Linked DNA regions of Homo sapiens: all the other regions are linked to region 1. The links are contacts of gene promoters, found by promoter capture Hi-C in blood cells and fetal thymus (Javierre and others, 2016). All regions are on one chromosome and are shown on one strand. Each heading gives the region's core, a stretch centred on a gene start or on the middle of the fragment in contact. The rest is flanking DNA. Distances are from core to core; before and after follow the strand shown. Region 1 holds the start of CWC15 (CWC15 spliceosome associated protein). Region 2 overlaps PIWIL4 (piwi like RNA-mediated gene silencing 4). Region 3 overlaps ANKRD49 (ankyrin repeat domain 49).

Evidence for each region. Contacts are between HindIII fragments. The CHiCAGO score rates a contact against its expected background, and 5 or more counts as called.
Region 2: a contact is called between a fragment that was not itself captured here and the fragment with the promoter of CWC15 in region 1, in 1 of 17 cell types (megakaryocytes). The highest score is 7.0, in megakaryocytes.
Region 3: a fragment that was not itself captured here is called in contact with the fragment with the promoter of CWC15 in region 1 in 4 of 17 cell types (total CD8 T cells, neutrophils, fetal thymus and 1 more); the score reaches 6.0 in total CD8 T cells.

Annotation. Positions count from the first base shown.
Region 1 is chr11:94,971,867-94,976,786 of GRCh38, forward strand. It overlaps CWC15 (CWC15 spliceosome associated protein), which reads right to left and starts at 1,690. Exons shown (of 7, transcript NM_016403.4): 1 at 1,632-1,690; 2 at 189-327. The coding sequence starts at 319. KDM4D (lysine demethylase 4D) reads left to right here and starts at 1,843. Exons shown (of 3, transcript NM_018039.3): 1 at 1,843-2,202; 2 at 3,788-3,882. RefSeq lists enhancers at 967-1,742, 1,457-1,626, 1,947-2,096. The HindIII fragment of the contact is 9,854 bases long and covers 1-4,145 here.
Region 2 is chr11:94,613,244-94,617,473 of GRCh38, forward strand. PIWIL4 (piwi like RNA-mediated gene silencing 4) reads left to right here. Exons shown (of 20, transcript NM_152431.3): 16 at 3,250-3,320. The region is part of intron 4 of PIWIL4-AS1 (PIWIL4 antisense RNA 1); the gene reads right to left. Among named protein-coding and RNA genes, the nearest start is that of LINC02700, 23 kb to the right of the region's middle. The HindIII fragment of the contact is 4,774 bases long and covers 296-4,230 here.
Region 3 is chr11:94,495,551-94,499,828 of GRCh38, forward strand. ANKRD49 (ankyrin repeat domain 49) reads left to right here. Exons shown (of 3, transcript NM_017704.3): 2 at 1,054-1,401; 3 at 2,521-4,028. The coding sequence starts at 1,144. The coding sequence ends at 2,982. It also overlaps a transcript of MRE11 not described here. Among named protein-coding and RNA genes, the nearest start is that of ANKRD49, 3.7 kb to the left of the region's middle. The HindIII fragment of the contact is 1,925 bases long and covers 307-2,231 here.

The DNA.
Region 1 (4,920 bases), core at 440-2,939:
AATTCCTGGTTAGTAGGAATTTCACATTTTAAAATCACAGCAGAATTTTAGTGTTAAACATCCTATTGCATTCTATTCCTATGAAAATAGATAAGTGACATAACTCAAACATACTACTATATCATGACCATGCCATTTAACAGATCTGGTCTTGTTTTGTGAACAATAAAAAAAGAAAGTCTTACTACCTGTATTTTATCTTTGTATGAGAGGGTAGGTCTCTGCTTGAATACTGCTTTGAAAGTTGGCTCAAATCACCTTCTCCTTTTCCCCTTCCACCTCTGGCAGGTTCAAAGGTTGGCCTGGCTGCTGTTGTCATCTTTTATGCTTTGAAGAAAAATATAATCAAGTTATTTCCAACATTACAAACACTCATTTTATAGAGTATTAATCAATATCCATACTGGTAAAATAAGTTCTAAAACTCATTCCCCAAAACCTGCTTAATCTTCTTAAACAAAAGTTTTCAAGAAAACAAATTATGAGGCTTAGGCTGTACAAGGAATATGGCTTCTCAGGCTTGCCTTAGTACAAAAAATTCTGTCATGAAGATCTGAGTTTGCATCCCTATTCTCCTTCTGACTATATGGGCTTGAGCAAGTCACCTGGCTTAACTTTGTCATCTGTGGAATGGAGATATTCCTCATAGATTATAAGAATTATGACACTTGACATGTCAAAACCCTAGTAAAATACAGTACTGCCATGACTGAGTTTTAAAAATTTCCAACTCAACCTTACTCTACCAGACTCTGTAAGGTTTGCATTTTATCTAAACTTCACACAATAGCAAATAGGCTAGTAGAAACAAAAGCTAAAAACAAACAAAAAATATCACTGACAAAGTTACTAAATGTCCCAGAGAAAAGTGTGTTAAACTTCAATGACAGTTACACAGAAAAAAATTCTTAAACAACCGTTTGTTGAGCCAATTTTCTCCTACAACAGGCATCATACTATAAATTAGATCGTTTGTGGGTTATAATTTAAGGCCTGTTCAAAAAAAACAGGAACCTCACCCCCAGAGGATTCTGATGCCAAAAATCAGGGACTCATTCCTCAAGTTACTTTCTGCTTGGAGCAGTCACAAGAATACTGTGCAGCAGATGCAGTCACTAAAACCCTGTTAGTGTCGGAAAAGCAAGTGTGTGGGGAGGGTGGGCGAATTGGGAGGATTTTTTGGGGGGGGGGCGATGCTAATTCTCTCAACTTTCAAAAAGGGTAGAGACATGTATACAAAGAAGAAAACAGGGTTATCTGGCGCTGGGGGCGCCGCCCCTTCCCACACACCCACGGAATTATCACTCCGGCCTCCCGTGAGCTAGTCTTTGGCTATAACCAGAAACTCGCTGCCTCTTCACCCGTGCCCAGCACTGCAGGGGTGCGAAGGGTAGTGAAGGGAGGACCTGGGGTTCGCTTTACGCAGTAGGCGAGCTGCCTGTACGCTGCGATCTCCTCGGCGGGCCCAAGAGCTCCAGACGCGCCTGACAGGCACTCGGTTCCGCCCCTAGCCCGCTGCTCCAGGGCCTCCACCGCCCGCGCTCTGCACTCTGCCGCCGACTCCGACCCCAACTGCCCTTTCCCGTCCCATCGCGATAAGAAAGATAATCTCCTATCCTCTTGCCGCTCACACTGGCCGAGGTCCGATGCAGCAGGCTCCGAAGATCATACAGACGCCATTACCACTCTTGGCTCCCAGAAACCTCTGCGCCCAGAGCTAGCGCCTACGACCCGGAAGCAAAATCCAAGCGCTTCGGGGGCGGAAGCAACGACCAATCCGCAGTGGCCGAAGTGGAAGTCGGCGTAACGGCACTAAGGGGCGGGGCCGAAGCGGCCCAGGGGGCGGGCGTTTGAAATCAGTGCCTTAGAGTAGACCCTAAACCTCATTTTATACCTTCAAGAACCAATTACTTAATGTCTCTTCCGTCTTTTCCGTCCCCGACCCCCTCCCAGACTCCTTCATTCCGGTACTGCGTGGACGGAAAGCCCCGGGTAGCCGACACCACGTCCCCGGCTAGCGGGAGAGAGCGTGGAAAAGGATTACACCAAACTGTTTAAATCCAACGACTCCTGCTTCCATCCTTTCTCCTGAGCTAGAACCAACAAACCTAGAGAGTTGGGCTTCGGAAAAACTAGTGTTTTCATTTAATTGGATATGAAGAAAGAACAAATATGTACGGGGCAACCACGATCTTTACAAAGGTACCATTCCTGCAAAAATATTAACACTTCAAAGCAAAGGTTGTATTCGTAATGTTTGCTAAAATTTCTTATTTAAAAAACGTTAGTTTTAGTGGGAGGGGAGATGTCAGTATTTACGAGAGCGTTTACAATGGTGGGCCCAACTACCAGGAGCACAAGATGTAATTATTAAGATGGCTACTTAAGTGTTAAGTTTTAATAAGACAACGAAAAGTAGAAAACCCGAAAACCAAAAACCTACCAGTCGTCTCTCCTCCCTTCCATAAAAACAAATTCTGAGAATAGAGATCTTGGTTGTTTAGCTCATCTTGGTATCTCATCACATAGACCTTGACGTATAGTAGCTGCTCAATTAATATTTGTTAAACAAATGAAAATTCAACTTCCCCAACTTAGTTTAAAATGTAAGGAACTCACAAAATTGAATATTTAAATGCTTTCTTACCCCTAAATTCTTTGCAACTTTTTAATGAAGAAAGAAAAGCAGAAAAAGCCCTTTCAGTCATAGAGTTCAAGATGAAAATCCTGATTTTTCTTACCGAAGGTATCCCTCCTCCAGTCTTAACAAGTCTCACTAAAAGACGCGATCATCATGCTAGTTACTCAAACCAAAATCCCGGAGTGCCTACTTAAATTCCTTTTCATTCACTCTTCACATACGGTTCATTTACAGGTCTTAACAATTCTACTTTTAAAACTCACCCGCAATTTTATTCTACTGCCACTACCCTTGCCTTTGCCAACACCATCTCCTACCTGGATTGTAATTGCTTCCTATTATATCTTCCTGCGTCATCTTTTATCCTACAGTCAGTGTTGCATATAGCCAAGAGAGTGATCTTTTAAAATTAATAAAATGGTGTTACTATCCTGTGTACAATTTCACTGCACTTAGAATAAAAATCACATTTCTTAATGTGACCTGAGACCCCACGGAGTCTGGTTCCTGCCTACCTTCCAGACTTCACTTCCAATCAGTCACTCGCTTACGCACTAAGCTCTAGACACAGCCAAGTGGGCATTTCTGTTTTATAAAACAGGGCAAGATTCCTTCTATTTTAGGGCCTTTGCACTAGCTTTTCTCTGTTGCCTGTGCCCCAAAGTAACTGTATCACCATCCTTCATGTCTCAGGTATCACAGTGAGGTTTTCCTACCCCCACCCCTCCAACACTTGTGTTTGTACACCATCACATCACCCTGTTTCATTTTTCATACCACTAAACATTACCAGAGTCTATTCTATTCATTTTTTATTTCCATGTCTCTCAGGAGACAGCATGCGAAGGTCATTAAGAGAAAAGGATCTTCAGCCTGCCCATTTTTGTTCTAAATTCCAGTTCTGCCCTTTCCTAGCTCTATAACCTTAGGCAAGTCATTTTCCCTTTCTGTGCTTTCAGTTTCCTCACGTGTAAAATGGGCGTAATTCTAGTCCCTAACTTGTAATACTACTCTAAGGATTAAGTGAATTAATACTTGTAAAGTGCTTAGAACTGTCTCAGCAAATAGTACTTGCTAAATAAATGTTAGCTATTATTATTATTATTAATATTATTTTTATTATTATTGTCTATCTTCCTATATTAGAACATAAGTTCCAGGAAAGCAGGAACCTTGTCTCTCTTGTTCACTGGGTGTATCCTCTGCATATAGAACAGTGCCTGGCACATAATAGGTGCTGAGTAAGTATTTGTTGAATGAATGAATGAATGAATGATGCACTATGAAGTAGAGGAATGACGTAACAATGGCAAGATGGTAACACAATTATAGGAGATACCCACAGTTTTTATGTTCCAACTGTCCTCATTAGCCTGGAGTGAATCACTTCATTGATTTAACTCCCAGCCCACTAACCTAATCTTTTGGTTGCCAGTGGTGATAAATAGCCACCCTATAATTTCATTAACACCAATATACAATATAGTCAATCCACAAAATTAAAAGCTTTTGACTTAAATGAAAGTGCTAATAAGAAAATGAAACTAAAGCTTTTGACTTAAATGGTTTGAAAGTATTAAGAAAAAGAAACTTAAGTTTACTAAAATCTTGAAATTCATCTGATCAGTTAACCTAGCTGGCAAAAATCATATAACCTCCCAAGAATTCTTATGTTAAACCTGTTACCACAAAATCTAGTTTGGCCCTTAATTCTGCCTGCCAGTCCTCTTATGCTCTCCTAATTGTTTATTTTCCCCCTCTACAATAATATAATTTCCCACATTCCCCTTTCTTCAAGTCTACATGCCTCTTTCACCTCCTTTTCCCTCTGCATTCTCTTTCCTGGCAGTAGATCTTCTCAGTTCTCTGAGAAAACAGAAGCTCTTAAACAAGGACTTCTCATCTCCTTTTTTCCGCAGATCTATCGAGCTGCCTTTGGCTATTCCTGTATCCTCAGATTCTCATTATTACTGGAGATGAGGTGACCCACACTCTCCCTTGTGCTCTGGGTCCTAATTCCTCCAGGTTTCTTAGTGGCTGGCATTTTGCTATATATTTTCTCTTTCTTATGATCTATGAGGCCATCCCTTTCAGATCATTTTTATCAGCTTTTGGACATGGTATAGTATATCTTAACCTTAAAAAAGGCTCTTTCATTTTAGTATGCCAAAGGTAGCATTTAATTAAATGTGAAAGGGATGTAGTTTGGCCCTTGATTGCAAAACTTTCTATTTTTATGGCAGGAGTAGCATAGGAATTCCAGTTTAAAGCTTAAACAA
Region 2 (4,230 bases), core at 1,433-3,932, 360 kb before region 1:
AGATCAGTAGTTTTTTCTTTCAAAACTTGGAATATATCATCTCATTCTCCTGGCCTGTAAGGTTTCTGCTGAGAAATCTGCTGATAGCCTATGAGGGTTCCTTTGTATGTAATAAGCCTCTCTTCTTGCTGCTTTCAACATTCTCTGTCTTTGATTTTTGACAGTTTGATTGTAATATGTCTTGGTGAATTCTTCTTTGGGTTGAACCTGCTTCAGAACTTTTGAGCTACGTGTACCTGGATGTTCCTATCTCTTTCCAGATTCAAGAACATTTTAGCCATTATTTCTTGAAATAAGCTTTCCACCTATCTCTGTTCTCCTTTTGAAACTTTCGTAATGCAAATGTTAGCCCTCTTTATGGTATCCCAAAAACTCCATAGGCTTTCTTCCATCCTTTTATTTTTTCTCCTTTGTGTATTTTCAAATGACCTATCTTCAAATTCACAGATTCTTCTACCTGATCAAGTCTGCTATTGATATTTTCTATTGCTTTTATTTAATTGTATTCTTCAGCTCCAGAATTTCTGCTTGGTTCTTTGAGATGGAGTCTCACACTCACCCAGGGCTGGAGTGCAGTGGCACAATCTTGGCTCTCTGCAACCTCCGCCTCCTGGGTTCAAGTGATTCTCCTGCCTCAGCCTCCCAAGTAGCTGAGATTATAGGCACCTGCCACAATGTCCAGCTAATTTTTTTTATTTTTAGTAGAGAGGGGGTTTCACTGTGTTGGTCAGGCTAGTCTCAAACTCCTAACCTCCTGATCCACCTGCCTCAGCCTCCCAAAGTGCTGGGATTATAGGTGTGAACCACCAGGCCCAGCTTGCTTGGTTCTTTTTTAATTGTTTCTATCTCTATATTGAAGTTATTGTTTTGTTTCTGTATTTTTTTTTTAATGTCATTGAGTGGTCTGTCTGCATTCCCTTGTAGCTTGCTGAGCTTCCTTAAACAATTATTTTGAATCCTTTCTCAGGCAATTCACAAATCTCCATTTCTTTGAGGTCAATTACTGGAATATTATTGTGTTCCCTTGGTTGTGTCATAGTTCCTGATTTTTCTTTTCTTTTTTTTTTTTTTTTTCCTTTTTGAGATAGAGTTTCGCTCTTGTCACGCAGGCTGGAGTGTGGTGGTGCGATCTCAGCTCACTGAAACCTCTGCCTCCCAGGTTCAACTGATTCTCCTGCCTCAGCCTCCCTAGTAGCTGGCATTACAGGTGCCTGCCACCATGCCCAGCTAATTTTGTGTATTTTTAGTAGAGTCAGGGTTTCACCATGTTGGGCAGGCTGGTCTTGAACTCCTGACTTCAGGTGATCCTCCCTCCTCGGCCTCTAAAAGTGCTGGGGTTACAGGCATGAACCACTGCACCCGGTCAGTTCCTGATTTTTCATGTTTCTTGAAGTTTTGCATTGCTGTCTTTGCATTTGAAGAATCAGTCATTTCTTCCAGTCTTTATTGGCTATCTTTGGGAGAGAAAAACCTTTAACAGTCAGCCCAGCTAGGGATTCTGAGGCTCTCTTACACGTTTTCTATTCATGTGCCCACTCCACACTTCTGGTTCTCACTTGGTGGGGGGATCCTTAAAATTGCATGCACTTTCTCAATCCCACAAAGCCAGGCCAGCTGTCAAGAGGCTCTCATCTGTTTTCCCTAGGGTGGTGCCCTGAAATGCTCATTTTGTGTACCTTCTCCAAATCCTGAAGAGTCAAGCTATCTGTTTGTGTGAAATGCTTGCACTCAACATCTGAACAAATGTGGTTGGGGAGCCAGCCTGGTCAGGGGTGGTGGTGAGATACATGTAGCATTTGGGGTGCCTGTGAGTCAGTTGAGGTGCTCCATAGGCAAGGTATCCTAAGAAACCCACAGGAGGGCCTCTTGATGAAGCTCATAGAGCAGTCAGTAGGGTTTGCAGCCACTCTTTCCTGCCCCCAGACTCTCCTAACCTCCCAGCTGTGCTGATAATCTTGTTGTTCTGGTTGAGGCAAGAAAAAAGTGGGCATCCTAGGCAGTATCCTGAATGGGTGAGGGAGCTGGGTACTCACTCACTACACTCTAATTTTCACCCTGTAAGAGAAATCATGGGCTGATGTGATCTGTCATGGCACTGAGCTGTGCCCTCCGTAGGGGAGGAGCAATGCAGGTAAAGTGAATCTCTTTGTGTTACCCTCTTTAATGCATCCATTCTCTGATGTTTTACTCCAGTGATGTGCTGGAACGTCACCATTGGAGTTAGTCTCATCCATGGGTAATTGTCAAAATTGATGCTTCTGGAAGGGAAATGATGGTAGAAAGCTCCTATTCTTCCACCTTGCTAATATCACTCAGGACTTCTAGTTTGTTGGCAGCATTCCTAATTGTGTTCTGTTTTTTTTGTTTTGTTGTTGTTTTTTACAAAAAAACAAAATGTTTAGAGATGGGGTCTTGCTTTGTTGCCCAGGCTGGAGTGCAGTGGCTATTCACAGGCACAGTGATAGCACAATACAGCCTTGAACTCATGGGCTCAAGCAGTCCTCCTACCTCAGCCTCCCAAGTAGCTGTGACTATAGGCACGCGCCACCACATGTAGCTGTATTACTGTTGTTGCATATATTTAGAGAGGTATAATAATGCTGGAACATACCTAACACAAAGTCATGATCTTCATTTCCAAGTGCTTTAAGTTAATTAATGGTGGTAGTAAGAGAACTTGTTTCTGAAATCTACACAATAATGTTAAGATTTCTAATCCAAAAGGATCACCTATAGAAATGAAAGTTTATGCTTCAGAAATCTTTGAATATTTTGACAGTAGAAGCTCTATTGCTAAATTAGTACATTAATTTATAACAATAATAGTGGCCTCTATTACTCTTTACTATATGCAAAGTACTATGCTAAATATTTTACAAATATCATGTGATTTAATTTTTACCACAACCCTATGAGGTAGTAACTAATCTACTTACCTTGTAAATCTCCTTGGTACAGATGAGGAAACTGAGACTTAGGTTCACATAGCAAAGTTACACAGCTGGTGAGTATATTGACTAGGATTTGAAGCTCGATATGGCTGATGCCAACACTATGTTTAGCTTCTGTTCTCAATAAATTCTTTTTGGGTAAAGGGTCTCTTTGATATAATTGTGAACACATAACACATACAAAATTGCGAACATTGATTTTTACTCATAATCTCTGTTTCTTAATTTAATATTAATGAATATTTATGGTAGAAAAATTGAAGTTGAATTTTACTTTTATTTTTTTTTTTAACTTTAGGTGGTTTTCCCGCTGTATCCTTCAGAGAACAATGACTGATGTTGCAGATTGCTTGAAAGTTTTCATGACTGGTACTAAAAATATAGCAATGTGGGTGGGCTCCAAGGACTGTTCCTTCAGACCTCAAATCCACATGCTTATAGAAGACCACATAGGTCAGAGCAAACTCTCTACACCTGTCTTTGTCAACTGTCACCCAGTTGAAGATCTCTGAAGCTGCATGCCGATTTAGGCCAACAATCAGACTATGTAGCATTTACATTTACATTTGTCTGTGTGTGATAACATGAAGCCAGAAGGAAGGAAAATTTGTGGCTGCTGGTTTCCCTGACAAGCAGTTTGAAGGTCAAAAGAAACCAACCCTGGAGGAACTCGAGTTATGACAGAGCAATGTTAAGTGTAGACCTAGGAGGGAAGCCTATAGGGCTAGGATAGGGGTGCTAACAGATAAAGTGGCAAAGCAAGAGAAGAAGGGAAAGACAGCAGATGAGGAAAGGTGCCCTATCCATAGCAGGATGCAATGCAAAGACAAATCTAAGGTTTCTGTTTCTTCACCACTCCTGGCCTAGGTCTGGCTTTGCTATTTCCTAGCAGTGTGACTTGTACAAACCCTTCCCTCTCCTGATCTGCATTTTCCCATCTGTAAATTTGGGAGTATTGTAAATATTTTTTCTTAAAAAATGAATTTGCTTATACATGTTGGTAATGGACTTATATATATGATTACCTTCTATCAAACTAAAATGAATTTCCTAAACAATAAACTCTTAAAATAACTATGCAATATATACATGAAAATAATTATTGCATTCTATTATATTCCCCTCACATCGAAACCTGGTAAATTTTTTTAGCAGGTAATTTTTTTTTTAGCAGTTATTAAAGGTTTTCGTTGGGTAGCAGTTACTCTATGGTCCCTGTTCTTTAGGAAATTCATAGTTACAGTGAGTAGAAATGTTTTCAGAGTTCATTCCCTCAGTG
Region 3 (4,278 bases), core at 19-2,518, 480 kb before region 1:
ACAAATAGAGTTGAGAGGCTGGGAATTCGTATTTGTAAATTATCTATTGGTTATTCTCCTTTTCTTTAATTGATTAAGGTTTATATGTTGTGTAACCCTTTAAGCTGATATTGGTTTAAAAATTAATATGGCAGCTTAGCAGAATAAACATCAGTTCCTTCAGGAAGCCTTCTTTAATCCCTTAGGACTAGGGGAATTATGAACCTCCTGTATACTCATGGTTTCTAGACAAGGTCTTGTAGTAGTACTTATCATGTTGTCTTTGCCAGACACATGATGTCTTTGCCAGTCACCTACACTAGAGTAAGCTTCCTGAGGTGAAGACATGGATCTTGCTCATTATTGAATCCCAGTACCCAGAAGTTGGCACATACCAGACATTCTATTCATATTAGTTGAATGAAGGAATGAATGACAGCCAAAATTCAGTTGAAAACAAGGACCCAACTAAGAACTATAGTTGCCTATCAATAAACAGGACTACTTTTTAAAGCAGTGAATTTTCCTAGGCCTGAAATTATCAAAGTAGAAATAGGATAATTAGTGTAGATGCTGTGATAAAGATATATGTACCGATGACAGATTGGAACAGATGTCCTTTTGGGGGCTATTCCATCTTCAAGAATCCCTGATTCTTCGAAATAGTATTTTTAGGAATTAGAAGTTTTTATTTCTGCTCTATATTATCTGTGTGTCTAGTTTATAAAAATCTTGAATGCACCTGTCTTCATTGTATTAGTTATACTTCAAAACCTTTAAGCATTCATCACTGTTAGCATAACACCATCATACCTAAACCAGTAGATTAAAAATAATAGTTATAATAATATAATTGACTTAGAAGAAAACAACAAAAGTAAGAAGCATTAGACCACTATTAGATCATAGTTTGTTGTTTTCTGTCAGCATCAGTATTTAGTGTATGTAAGGGATATCATGAGAAAAACAAGAGTTTAGACAGGGTTTAATTGTATATGTTTGCAAGACTTATCTATGCAGTTGATAAAGCCTGAATTATTGTTTTACTAATAACTTTTGTATTTGTGTTTTCAGATCTTGATGAACAAAGCAGTCATAATTCATCTCTAGAAAGATTTATATCCTGGCATTTGAAATGCTTTTTATTTAGAATAGTAGTAAAAAATGGAAAAAGAAAAAGGAAATGATGATGGAATACCAGACCAAGAGAATTCCTTGGATTTTTCTGAACACTTTAACCAACTTGAATTGTTGGAAACACATGGACACCTTATTCCTACTGGTACTCAAAGTCTTTGGGTAGGCAATTCTGATGAAGATGAGGAGCAAGATGACAAAAATGAAGAGTGGTATCGATTGCAAGAAAAAAAAATGGAAAAAGACCCAAGCAGATTGCTTCTTTGGGCTGCTGAAAAAAATCGGGTAAAAAAAAAAATTACAGAGGGAAGTGTGACAGTAGGAAAAGCACTGGGTTCAAGCCAGAAGACCTGCCTTTACTGTTATGGCCATCATACCTATCTCTTGATTGTGAGGACCAAATGAGACAATGTACATGAAAGCACATATTAAGCTGCAAAGTGTCATGCTAGGTATTATTTGGGGGTTTAAGGATAATTATCTATAAAGATAGCAAGCAATCATCTATATTTTAAAATCATTTATATAAAGTCATTAGGATCATTTAGGAAAGAGAGGATGGAAACTAACATTTATTAAAAACTAACTATACCAGGTACCTTATTACATTATTTTATTTAATCATCATGTATCCCTATAAGTAATATTCTTCTCTTTTATAGAGTAAGAAATTGAGATTCAGGAATATTAATTTGCCCAGGATCATCGAAGTGGAATGAACATCAAAAGCCTATTCCCTCTGCTTGGCCACTTCCACCTCATTTTACTAAGTTTCCCCATGTCTGTGTTAGTAAACTAATAACTAAAAGGGTCTCGCATTTTAAATAGCTTTTTAACCCAAGAGCATGCCACATTTAACCAGAGGCCCATAGAACAAACTGAAAATTACAACCTAAAAGGTTGTTTCTAAGGTTGTATTGAGAAGGAATTGAGCTCTTGAATCCCTAGAATTCCTTATTAATACTTTATTCTTCTGTTAAAAGTTTTATTTTTAAAAGTTTCATACAGTGTGTATATTGGTGTGATAATCCTACAGAAAAATCAAGCAGTTATGTTTTCTTCACAGATAACACATAAAATATTAAACAGAAAGCCTATGTTATTCATTGGACTGAAGCTTTTATGCAATAAACCTTAGTTGGACCAGGAGTAAATGTATGGTTTGATATTCAGAGAATCTCATTCTTAGAAGCAACAAAGTGTAGTTAACACTAACTTGTTCATTCTTAAATCAGTAGTCCTCTCCTCCCCAAAAAGAGATCTTAAATTATTTTCATTTTAAAGTCATCTACTAACAAGTAAGTTTTTATTCAACTTAATTAAATCTAACACCACAAGACAATTTTGTTTTAGTTATTGTTTTGGTTTGAGTTGAGTTGAAAGATTTCTTTTTTTTCTTCTCAGCTTACCACAGTGCGGAGACTCCTTTCTGAAAAGGCCACTCACGTGAACACTAGGGATGAAGATGAGTATACCCCTCTTCATCGAGCAGCCTACAGTGGACACTTAGATATTGTTCAGGAGCTCATTGCACAGGGGGCCGATGTTCATGCAGTGACTGTGGATGGCTGGACGCCCCTGCACAGTGCTTGTAAGTGGAATAATACCAGAGTGGCTTCTTTCTTACTGCAGCATGATGCAGATATCAATGCCCAAACAAAAGGCCTCTTGACCCCCTTGCATCTTGCTGCTGGGAACAGAGACAGCAAGGATACCCTAGAACTCCTCCTGATGAACCGTTACGTCAAACCAGGGCTGAAAAACAACTTGGAAGAAACTGCATTTGATATTGCCAGGAGGACAAGTATCTATCACTACCTCTTTGAAATTGTGGAAGGCTGTACAAATTCTTCACCTCAGTCTTAACAATTCTAGTAATTTTCCTAAGTTTCTAAATACCAGTGCCTCCTGTGTGTGAGATGTATTCCCATAATCAAAGTTGACGTCAAACATCTTACTACAAAAATTCAGTGACATTCATTATAACATTCTTCCAAGTGAATTGCCTGACTTTGATGTCAAAATGTATTTGAAAGTAATTTGCATATATCTTTAATTATTTCTGTGGAGTTTGTGATTTTTTTATCAGAAATAATTTTAATGTGTGTATACTTAAAAACTTGACACGGGTTGTACAGAAACTGGTATTTTTGGTGCTGATACAAGAGAAATGTATTTTTAAATATCCCACATCCTGGATCTTTGTTGGGTATTTAGTATATTGACATATATTTTTATAAGGTGAGGTAACTCAGAACTTAATTTAAAAGTCTTAAATATTCTGATACAATTCAGCTGTCTTCTCTACCTTACCATAGCCAGTTGCTTTCATTTTAAACCAGAGCAAGTAACATATTAGTGACTTGAATCTTCATAAGTTAAAGTAAAAAACAGCAAAAAACCTAGATCTTTGTCTTTTAGAACACAGACCATTTTCAGGAAAGCAGTTAGCTAAGTGTTTAATTCATGAATATTGTATACTGCATCCCCTACCACAATTTACACAATCCTGTGGATAGTCCTACCTCACCCTGGTCAACCTACATGATCCTTAAGCTAATGGCGAATCACGATGACCTTGTAGACATGCACACAACTATACCTTTGTCCAACAGATCATAATATATCTGCTATCCAACTGGTTTTACCTGCCTAATCCTACTGATTTGGGCACTGCTTGTATAGTCTCTCAAGTTCACAGGAAATGTTGATTTTCTAAGGTCCTCATTTTTACAGAGTATACAGGCAAAGTGACAGGGGAAAAGGAATTAGTCTAAGAGTAAGGGGATGATTATTATATTGAGGCTAAAACCACAAAGTGGCTCAGGCTTTAAAAAAAAAACACTGTGGATAATGACAAAAAGCATAAGTAAAAATATTTGAGAAAAATAAAGTACAAGTTTTGAACAACACAAAAGGCATGAATTCATTTTTTACCTGTGTATGTCTTTCTTGGATCCAGAACATTATTCATCCAGCACGCACTTAGTTATTTAACATCTACTCACTCAGTCTCTCCAGCAGCAATTTTGCATTGTCTATCTAGCCCCCCTGTGATTGTTCCCAAAGTTTTGTCTTCTCAACACCACAACACTCCAGGGGAAGGGAACTAAACCAGTTGCTCTTTACTTCAGTTAAATTTTTAAGATGTCCACCAAGGCT